Linked DNA regions of Homo sapiens: region 1 is linked to region 2. The links are contacts of gene promoters, found by promoter capture Hi-C in human tissues and cell types (Jung and others, 2019). All regions are on one chromosome and are shown on one strand. The core of a region is centred on a gene start or on the middle of the fragment in contact, and the rest is flanking DNA. Distances in the headings are between cores, read along the strand shown.

Region 1 (5,103 bases), core at 1,835-4,334, 1.7 Mb after region 2:
CTGGGGGGGAATGGATGGGGTAAAGAGGGGCAAGTGCAGACTGCAGAGATGCCAGAAGCACAGCACAGCCGTGAGCTCACCGCTGAGTGCTGGTGGGCTTTCCCCCTGCTCTTTGCAGCTTAGGGGAGGAGGTGTGGGACGGAGAGGGGGAGAAGGAGGGAAGGATGTCAGGGAGCAGGAGGGGAAATAACAGAAGCTGAGTGGGAGGGAGGAGGCAGGAGGCGGGGTGGCTGGAGGCTGAACATCTCCGGCTGGGGGAGTGACCCCTGCTCACTGCATGGCGGCAGAGGAGGAGGAGGGCGTGTGTGAATCCTCCACTTCCTTTCCCAGCCAGAACCCGGGACTTGGCGTGGGCCAAGGCATAGCTGCTTCAACTCATGGGAAGCCAGACTGTTGGTTTGGGATGAGACGATGAGTCAGGTTAGTTCACATCTCTCTGCATCCAGAAAGACACTTTGCAACTCCATGCCTCTCTCTCCACATTCCAGAAAGGGACCATCAGAGGCAGGTGTCACTTTGCCTTGAGCCTTGGTTTCCTTTGGGAGGGAGAATGCAGAAGGGGGCTGGGGATGGGGCAGCTCAGGTGCTCCCACTACTTTTGAGTAGAAGCCGCTCAAAAGTGAGGGCTTTCTGCAATATCCCGGGCCCCTCCCCGTCCTGGTGGAGCAGCCATCCACAGTGCAGGTGGGCTAGTGGAGGGGAGGTCATGTCAGGGAGGGGTGTGAGGGCTGGGACTGGTCCTGGGGCCAGATTCTGAGAAGGGTAGGCTGGATGGTCCCAGCTGCTTTGGGTTTCTTTTCTCTTTTTCTCTCTTCTCTTAAGGTCTAAAGTCCAACTCTAGCTGGATTCCTTCTGTAGGAGCTCACGTAGCATGCCATGTGGAGTGTGAGGCTCTGTGGTTCCTTTACCTTCTCTCCATCCTTCTTCCCTCCTCCTGTCCCCTTCCTGAATCCCCAACATCTATGTGATTTCTTATTTTCACCCCAAATACGTGCTCCCAGTCAGTAGGAATTTGTTTCCCAGAAATAAAAATGTGTCTGTTGACCCTGTCCTTATGGAGGGCAGAGACAGCAGGTTGGACGGGGGCAGGTGAGAAGATGGATTTGGGAACCAGGATGGAACACAGCCGAGTTTTGTGTAATGCTCTCTCCAAGTTGACAGTGAAACAAGTCTAGACACTTAAAGGTGATTAGCTTAGCTTCAAGTGGATCCCAAACTCTCCTCAAACTTCAAAGCTCCTCTGTGTGTCAAGACCTGGGGAGTGGCCAGCTGGGTATCGGGGCTAAGGGATAGGAATGCTCTCAGGAGGACTGGAGGTGGCCATTCTTCAGTCACCCCTCTCCTGGGCTCCTGGCATTGTCCATCTTCTACCTCTTGACCCTCTAGGATGCAGCACAGGGCTGCTGCCCAGGTGAATGACACAGCTTCTGAGTGCCTACAATCTTGTTGGCATTGGCCCAAAAGGGAAATGAAGCTCGGCTAGAGAAGTCTGCTTTTGATTCCTCCTCTAGGCTTCCTCTTCCCTAACCCAGGAAGCTCATTTTGCTATCTGGGACAGAAACCCTAACATCTCTGGGCCTCACCTACAGTCCCCAATTGCAGCGTGCGATTTTAGCATGGAGATTGTGGCATTTGGGCCTGGGTTCGAATCCCACCTCTGTCACTGGTCACTGAGTGGCCAGGGCCACGGCATCCCACCTTGTGAGTCTGTGCCTTAGCCTCCCTTTTTTTGTTCTAGGAGCTCTAGATACAAAAACCTTTACTCTCAGATTCTGGTAGAGATACACACAATAAACCCTAAATTTGCAGTGAGCTGAGATTATGCCACTGCACTCCAGCCTGGGTGACAGAGTGAGACTCTGTCTCAATTAAAAATCAATCAGTCAATCAATCATCAATAAAATAAGATATGACTGGGTGTGGTGGCTCACACCTGTAATCCCAGTGCTTTGGGAGGCCAAGGTGGGAGGATAGCTTGAGGTCAGGAGTTTAAGACCAGCATGGGCAACACAGCGAGACCCCTGTCTCTACAAAAGAATTATTTAATTAGCCAGGAGTAATGGTATGTGCCGTCATCCCATCTACTCTGGGGCTAAGGTGGGAAGATCACTTGAGCCCAGCAGCTGGAGGCTGCAGTGAGCTGTGATCACTGTTACCTACTGCAGTCCAGCTTGGATGACAGAATGAGACTCTGTTTCTAAAATTTAAAAATAAATAAAAAATAATAAGATTAGTACAGGTGAGAGCAAGCCTTACACAGGGAATAAACAGGTTGGTAGAAAGTAATCGGGGAGGGATGCAAGGGTTTCAAGATTAACTGGAGAAAGCCACCTTGCAGACATGAGACTCAAGTTGAGAACTAGAAAATGAGAAAGGCTGATGTATGTGAAGAGCCCAAGGAGGAGAATTCCAGGCAGGGGAAGCAGCAGCAAGTGCAGAGTCTCCTGGATGGGTCAAGACTTCGTATGTTCACCCACCAGGAAAGAGATGAGTGTGTCTGTCCCTGGGACATGGCGGGACAAGGTGAGGAGTCCGCATTGTACTCTAACACAGTGGGAAGACTGGAAGGGTTCCCATTAGGAAGTGCTATGACCTGGACGCTTCAGATGTGTCTGATGAACAGACTGGGGAAAGACATTGGGAGGCTCCTTCAAGGCCCAGGTGAGAGGAGATGGAGGTGAGAGGAGATGGATGAGAACCATAAACAGATTCATTTAGCACCGATGCACTGATACTGTCAATAGCCTCCAGCGGTGTCATAGGCTTGAAGGCAACACATATCGTGCACACATCTGTAGATCGCCTACTACATGCCAGGCCTTGTATTTTCCTTCTGTTTGTTTCGGCTCCCTAATGTTCCTATTTAATATTAATATTTTCAGTTTGTAAATGAAGAAACCTCAGAGAGATTGATTTTCAAATCAAACTCCTGCCGATGCCACAGCTGATGGTCTGGTCTGTACAGCCCTGCAGGTACAGCTGCTCGGCAATGTGTATTGCATGGCAAAAAAAGGAGGAGCTGAGCATATTGCGCAGAGCACGGGAGGGTCTTTTGGCCCAAAATGACACCCCTGCATGTGGACCAGAGTAGTATTTTCGCCCCATAGGAACTAGAGGTGTTAGCTAAGCTAGGGATGGATGACCTAGGGGGATGAAAACACATTTTGTCAGTGTCAAGTTTATATCAGCAGAGCCACCCTGTGCTCCTAAGTCACACCTCGCAGGAATGGGAGGCAGAAAGGTTGCATTTAGAAGGAAAGGATTAGCTCTGGAAAGTGAGTTTGGACATTGAGGCTCCCCAGATCCATAGGGATGATGGATGTTGGCAAGGACAATGGTCACAATATAAGTAACAGATACCGATAACACTGCCTAGCATTTATTGAGTGCCCACTATGTACTAAGTATTGAGTAAATGTTCCAGAGCTGTTATCTTATGGTGGTATTTCTTAAATTTCTCATAACGATCCTATGAGGTAGGCTGCTTCACTGTATTTCCTCGAGTATACAAAGCCATCAATTCAATAAAAGCTTTTCACATCAAAACATATTAAACTTACACAACGAAGTTTTGTTGTGTCATGCTTTTCCTAACAAAATATAGAACATATTCATAACATAACCTCTTTATTCTTCAGGATGATAACGCAAGTTTGAATCGAAGCCTAGATATTCAGAGTCACAGAGTCTCCATGCACAACTGCTAATTGTAAAAAATATATATATAATAAAATTAAAATTAAAAAACAGAGTCAGAAAGTTTCTGGCTCCCTTTCAGCTGTGCCCATGCAGTTCTCCATGTCCCACCTGGGATTTCTTTAGCCCCTTTAGGATGGATGGTATAATTTAGAGCTCAGCGAAGAACAGAGGCTCCTTCCACATCTCCTGTTTTATTAAACTTGTGGCTTTCCCCTTCTTAATTGGATATCTGTCTTTTGACTAAGAAATACTTCACAGTGCATGACAATCACCAACCTTTCCTAGCTTTGAAAATTGTGTGATCTAAACTTAGAGATTTGCCTGAATCTGCACATGTGCTGGCACTGACATCCCAATTTCTCCTGTCTGGTGACTGACAAGGTTGTTATTGTTTAAGCATTGATTATTAGATGCTATCCTATTACTTTAAAAAAAAAATGTGCCCAGTCCGGTGGCTCACGCCTATAATCCCGGCACTTTGGGAGGCCTAGGCAGGTGGATCACCTGAGGTCAGGAGTTCGAGACCAGCCTGGCCAACATGGGAAAACCCCATCTCTACTAAAAATACAAAGATTAGCCAGCCAGTCATGGTGGTGCTCACCTGTAATCCCAGCTATGTGGGAGACTGAGGTGGGAGAATCATTTGAACCCGCGAGGTGGAGGTTGCAGTGAGCCAAGATCATGCCACTGCACTCCAGCCTGGGCAACAGAGTGAGACTCTATCTCAAAAAAAAAAAAAAAAAAAGTTTAAGGGTGTCTTAGAATTAGTTTGTAACACTGAAGGTTAAAGATATTAAACAGTTTACCTTCCATGTCATAGCTGGCAGGTGATGTAACTAGAATGCACACCAAGTCGGCTGGGTACTTCTCAACATTAAGGCTGTAATGACTTTCTCCTTCTTTCTCTCTTGAATCTTCTCAATGAGGCCTTCCTTCCACCATTCCTCCAAAACTGCTCTTGTCAAGGTTACCAAAGATCTCCACATGGCCAAATGCATTGACTAATTCTCAATTGTTATCTTACTTTCAGCAGCACTTGACAACTTTTTTTTTTGAGACAGGAACTCAGTCTGTTGCCCAGGCTGGAGTGCAGTGGCGTGATCTCAGCTCACTGCAACCTCCGCCTCCTGGGTTCAAGCTATTCTCATGCCTCAGCTTCCTCAGTAGCTGGGACTACAGGTGCGTGCCACCATGCCCAATTTGCCTGGCTAATTTTTTATATTTTTAGTAGAGACGGGGTTCCACCATGTTAGCCAGGCTGGTTTCAAACCCTTGACCTCAAGTGATCTGCCCACCTTGGCCTCCCAAAGTGCTGGGATTACAGGCTTGAGCCATTGCGCCTGGCCATTTGACACCATTTTTAGGAAACAATTTCTTGACTTGGCTTTCTTAGGTCTTCTATAT
Region 2 (5,913 bases), core at 962-3,461:
GAAAAGCAGTATGTCCCATTCTCTCTAAAGGGAAAAAAATTCACTCACAAACTTACCCCGTTGATATGAAGACCACTAAGCACTAATTTAGACCAACAGATTGCAGCTCTTAAAAGTAAATAAAGGGTACCAATAAAACACTGATCAACATGCTCCCCTTTGTTTTGAAAAGTTAATAAATTCTTACTTCCGTAGATTTTTGAGTGGTGAGTGGGAGAACAACATCTTACTAAAAATAAGACAGACCTTCGTTGGAGCGACAAATGCTGTGAAGATTGCTTTGATGCATCCTGACTTTCACAGGAATGACAACCTTTATGCTTCGAAAATGTGGGAGATCACATTAAGAGATATTTCTTTACGGGAAACAGCAAATAGCACGATGTATATTCATAAAAGTACTGACTCCCTCTGCATTCCGAAGCATGGTTCACAAAGGCTATCTATTCAAAGCCTGTTCTAGAATGCTCATAGACATCCCCCCAACCCCCAGTAAGGAAGCGCACTGGACCCAAACTCCAAAGACTTTGGGACACTTAGACTTACCTTAACCAAATCTCATTATCATTCTTGTGCTTTGGTTTTTGTTCCTTTAAATGACAGAAGTAATTCCTGCCTGAGTCTTGTAAGATCCAAGAATTTTTAAAAATCACATAAAATATTTCATGCTTCTTAGAAATGACTGCTATAAAACGCAAGGTGCTATACTATTATTATTATCATTATTATCATCTCCTTGTATCAACTTTTACTGTCACTTCTGAATTAAGCCAAGGTACTGGCTTTGAAACACAAATCCCGTGGTTTTCCACCTGTGATTACGTTTCTTGCTATAATTCTGTCCTGACAACTTGTCCCGCACACTCCGAAGATCTACTTTACTGATCTCTGGCCTGAAAATTAAGTCTTTTATTTAGTCCCTTCTCTCCAAAGAAAGGGGCAGAAGTCACACCACTCCAGATTCTTGTAGACGTATTAAGAATGAGATCATTCTTCTTACTTGAGGAATGATGCCACAGAATATAAAGGCGACACTTCTTGCCCTCTAATCTTTCCTTGCCACAACACAAAACCTGTGCACTTGGTTACCTAGAAAATTGGAAGGTTCCCCACAATGGATGTGCATCAATAACTGTCATAAAAATATCAGATCTCTGGCACAGACAGGAAAAACTTTATCTAGTTTGCAAGAAATTAAACCCTGCAGTCCTCCATCTGCTACTGGGTTTGGTATGGGCTGTCCCTTTCTAGGGCCTGTGCCTGTCTTTGAGGAGAGTGGCCTGGCCCCACAGCACGCTAGGAGCAGCTCTTGAGCCGGATCAAGACCCTCCCGAGCAACGTCTGCACCCAACCCTGCATCTCTCATTTCAGACACACCCCCCTCCACCCCGTGTTTCATAGGAGGTGTGGGCGCTCAACTCCTTCACTGTGGCTAGGGGGACGCGAGGGGAGGCGGGCCGAGGCCTGAGCACCCATTTTGGAAGACCGGGGAGCTCGGCCCTCCGGGCTGTACGATTTGGAGTGTCGGAGGGAAGGGCGCATCCGTGGGAGGGGGAAGGAGGCCGGGGTTGCTGGGGGGTCTCTCGTATTCCGGGGCGTGAGAGGAAGGCGGCGGGAAAGACTCCGGAGAGCGAGGTTTATCAGCGCGAGGTTTCCTTTTTGTTATCTGCTGAGGGATGGCGGGCGTCATGGGGGCGTCCCCCTCAGTAAAGTCAGCAAGGGGGTCCCCCTCGCTTCACCGGGGGGCGGGCGGGGGGGCCCGAGGACTTGACGGAGGCCTCCCCCGGGGACGAAGACAGTGACTGACGAACGTTGTGGGCTGCGCGCGCCGGGATGCCCGTTCCTGTCCCTGCAGCCCCGCGCGCGAGGTGTGGGACCGGGTGGGAGGGGACGGAGAAGGCCCCCGGCCCGGGAGGCGGGAAAGGCCCCGGGGCTCCGGGACGGGCGGCGGCTCCAGAGCCCCGAGTGGCGGCGGCGCGGGCCTGCCGAGTCCCGAGCCGGCTGGCGCCCTGTGGGCCGTGTGCACCCCCGACTCCACTCGCCGCTCTTCGTGGTCGCCCCCTCCCCCCCGCGGCTCCTCTCACCTGCACATGATCCGCCATTTTGCTCCATTCATGCTCCTCTCCGGCCCCCCCTCCCCCCCAGCGCGCACCTCGGCCGGAGCCGCTGCCGCCGCCGCCGCCGACGCCGTCGCCGCTGCGCCTGCGCGCTGGGGACTCGTCGCGCTGCGCTCGTGGCGTAGCGCCGCTCAGCTGCGCAGGCCCCGGCGGCCCGGGCCGTGGTTGGAGAATGCGCAGCACCGCTGGGACGGCGTAAAGGCGCGGGCAACGTCAGCGGCCCGGAGACGCCGGGTGGGAGGAAGGAGCGGGCCGGGGGAGCGCGAAGGAGGGGCAGCTGGGGGAACAAAGCTTTGTTTACATGGTTTTTAAAGGGGCCGCGCTCGCTCCGGCAGGCGGGCGCTGGAGTGGGAGTTGGCGCTGCCTTCTGCTCGTTTGCGTGGTGAGGGCTCCTGGATGGGGGCCGAGGTCTGTCGCCGCCCCGGGACCCCTGCACCCAGTGGCTTCCTCTCTTCCCAACCGTCTTCCCCCTTGACTCGCCCCTGGACGTCTCCCACCCCCACCCCCACCCCACCCTGCAGCTACGGGGACCCCCCACACCCCACCTAGGCTGCCTGCGAGATTCCTTACTTTCCAATGCCCTCTACTCAACGGGGGCCGATTCTGTGCTTGTGTCTGTCTAGCTTTCTGGACCAGGGCCATCGCTCTCTGGTCTGGATTTCACCAGCAACCCCAGTGGTTGATCTCGTGTTTTTCATTTCTGTCCTTTCGTCCTTGATAAACATTCATGGAAATAACCACCGAATGGTGGTGATGATCAAAACATACGAAGGCACAGTTCTGGCTTCCCAAAGACATTGTCCTCGTTGCCAATACTCTAGACTGCCTCCCGAGAGGGTCAGATGCTGGAAGAGGCAGCGGGGCTGGTGGTTAGGACCCCTAGGCTCGGTCTTGTGGAGGTATGAGTGGGAAAGCCATCTCTCTGGGTCAGATAAGGTCAGCCCCTGCATGCTGAGGCCAATTCCAGTCTTCCTCACTAGGAATTATCTGTTAGATAATGCCGGTTCCTGTTTTCCATTGGATTCCACTGTGGCTTCCTTTTAAGGCCCCCAGGTTAGATCATAGCTGGATTCTGAGAGCACTGATTGTTTGAAGTTTGTATTTACAGGGGACTACCATCATATGCAAATGATGGTGGTAGTGAATTACACACCCTTGGTGGATGTAGTGGACCGGTGCTCAGCATTCATTTCGACTTCCGTCCTCCTAGTAGGTCTTCCTGGTTTGCAGAGGTAGGGCACCTGGAAACTACATTACCCAAACTTCCTTGCAGCTAGGGTTCTGTATGCAAATTAGGCTCTGCCAATTAGGCTGACTCAGAGAAGATTTAAGAGGCAGAAGATTTAAGTGGCAGAGCTTTTGACTGTTAACTTCTAGCGAGCATAGACCTTTTCAGATGTTGGGTTTTTGTTTTTCCCCAAAACCTCCCAGCGTCCAATCATTAGCTCCGAGCGTATAAAGAGGCGGGGTGATGGGGTCAGTGGCTTTCTGAACCTGGCATCGGGCAATGAAATATTCTCAGAGTCACAATTGCAATGGAAATTCTTTGGATTCCCTACTGGACTGAATAGAGGTAACAGTTTCACAGTGGGCCAGGCCCAAATTTCTGTCCACCCTCCCTTCCCCCACCCCCGCACCCCAACCTCCCCGTGTTTCTCCCTGTGTCTTCCCTTCCTCAGTAAATGGTACCACCATTCATCCAGTTGCTCCTAATAAACACTCAGGAGTTGGTTCTTCAAGTCTTATCAGTCCCCAACATGCAAGTCACCTGCAAGTCCTGTTCAATCTATATCTAATATATACCCAATATGACCACTTCTCCATCCATCTCCACTGTTAACACCTTGGTCCAAGCCACCATTACCTTTCTCCTGTGCTCTGGTAATAGATTCCTAATTAGTTTCCCTGCTTCCTGTCTTGCCCCTTGATAACCCATTTTCCATATAGCTGGACGCTGCAGAACATTATTTTATTTATTTGTTATTTTTTGAGACAGAGTCTTGCTCTGTTGCCGAGGCTGGAGTGCAATGGCGCCATCTCTGCTCACTGCAACCTCCGCCTCCCTGGTTCAAGCGATTCTCTTGCCTTAGCCTCCCAAGTAGCTGAGATTACATGCGCCCACCACCATACCTGGCTAATTTTTGGATTTTTAGTAGAGACAGGGTTTCACCACGTTGGCCAAGCTGGTCTGGAACTGCTGACCTCAGGTTATCCACTCGCCTCTGCCTCCCAAAGTGCTGGGATTACAGGTGTGAGCCACTGCGCCTGGCCAGAACATTCCTTTAAAATCATAATTCAGATAATTTACACTCCTACTTAAAATCCTTAAGTGGCCTCATGTTGCATTTAGAATTCGAATCTTTGCTGTGGCTCAAGAGGTCGTATGAGCTGACCTCACTCTACCATGCCCCCTCTGGCTCAATGCTCTGTGGTCATTCTGGCCTTGCAGTTCTGCAAAGCCAGGATCTCCTGCCTCAGGGCCTTTGCACTTGCAGTAACTTCTGCCTGGATTGGTTTCCCTTCAGATCGTGAAATGGCTGGCTCACTCTCCTCATGGACTTTTCAGCTCACTTGTCACCTCTCAGAGAGCCTTTTCTCACCACCCTCTTGAAAGTTGTCCCCTGTGCCTATCACTATCACAGCATTGATCACTGTCCAAAACTACATATTATTACTCTTTCATTATCAGTCCCTCCAACTAAAAGCAGACATAGTATAAACAAGGATTCTGTCTATGTTGTATCCCTAGTACCTCTGCACAGAGTAGATGCTCAGTAAATAATTGTTGAGGCGGGGCATGGTGGCTCACACCTTTAATCCCAGCACTTTGGGAGGCTGAGGGGGGTGGATCACCTGAGGTCAGGAGTTTGAGAGCAGCCTGGCCAACATGGTGAAACCCCGTCTATACTAAAAATACAAAAAATTAGCCAGGCATGGTGGTGTGCGCCTGTAATCCCAGCTACTCAGGAGGCTGAGGCAGGAGAATGGCTGGAACCCAGGAGACGGAGGTTGCAGTGAGCCGAGATCGTGCCACTGCATTACAGCCTGGACAACAGAGTAAGACTCCATCTCAAAAAATAAATAAAAATAAATTTAAAAAACTGTTGAATGTATTAACTTCTTTATGTCTCATTCTAGGGTGCATGTGGGTTTCATATGAAGACATAAAGCATTCTAAATATTATGTCACTGTTAGGTAACATGTTATGTTATGTTATGTTATGTTATGTTATGTTATGTTATGTTATGTTATGTTATAGGCCCTTCCTCTCAGCGGGTTTCTAGAACTGGGTTCTCTCTTTCCTTAGTACTGAGAAAAGTGATAGACTTAATGGAGAAAGGGTGGGGGGCTACAAATGAAGCTCAAGAGACTGGCATTGTCCCCCTCCCACACCCCACAGTCAGGGACCACTGGGGGTGGAAGGGGCAGGGATGGGGTCCTTCAGAATACACGCTCACTAATTCTTTCGCTCAGTCCTTCACCCGTCTCAGGCCCACATCAGTTCTCTGCCTATCCTATACGTACTTACCTGTTGTGTGCCCAGAACTACCCCTTAGCTAGCTTCCCTACCTGCACATCATTTGAGGGTTACCTAATCCCCAAGCCGGCCCAAGGAGTCAGACACAGTCTCCTCTCCTCCTTCCTTTGTTGCCCCAAAGACAAGGTCCCAGCCCTCTTATGTTAGGATTGGGTTGCTAATCACTGCAGCAGAATAGTAATGAAAATTTCTTGGAGCTGTGGTTCCTGACTCCTGCTGAGAGAAACTGTTGTAAGGGACAGGATCCCAGTGGCTTA

Evidence for each region. The method cuts DNA at HindIII sites, captures the fragments that hold promoters and counts their contacts. A contact is called where the count stands out against the background at its distance.
Region 1: a fragment that was not itself captured here is called in contact with the fragment with the promoter of XPO7 in region 2 in 1 of the 25 tissues and cell types used here (dorsolateral prefrontal cortex).

What each region holds. Positions count from the first base shown.
Region 1 is chr8:20,257,010-20,262,112 of GRCh38, reverse strand. The region is part of intron 1 of LZTS1 (leucine zipper tumor suppressor 1); the gene reads left to right. Among named protein-coding and RNA genes, the nearest start is that of LZTS1-AS1, 16 kb to the left of the region's middle. The HindIII fragment of the contact is 3,047 bases long and covers 1,561-4,607 here.
Region 2 is chr8:21,915,960-21,921,872 of GRCh38, reverse strand. XPO7 (exportin 7) reads right to left here and starts at 2,211. Exons shown (of 28, transcript NM_015024.5): 1 at 2,085-2,211. The coding sequence starts at 2,102. RefSeq lists a silencer at 1,855-2,294. The HindIII fragment of the contact is 7,284 bases long and covers 1-4,640 here.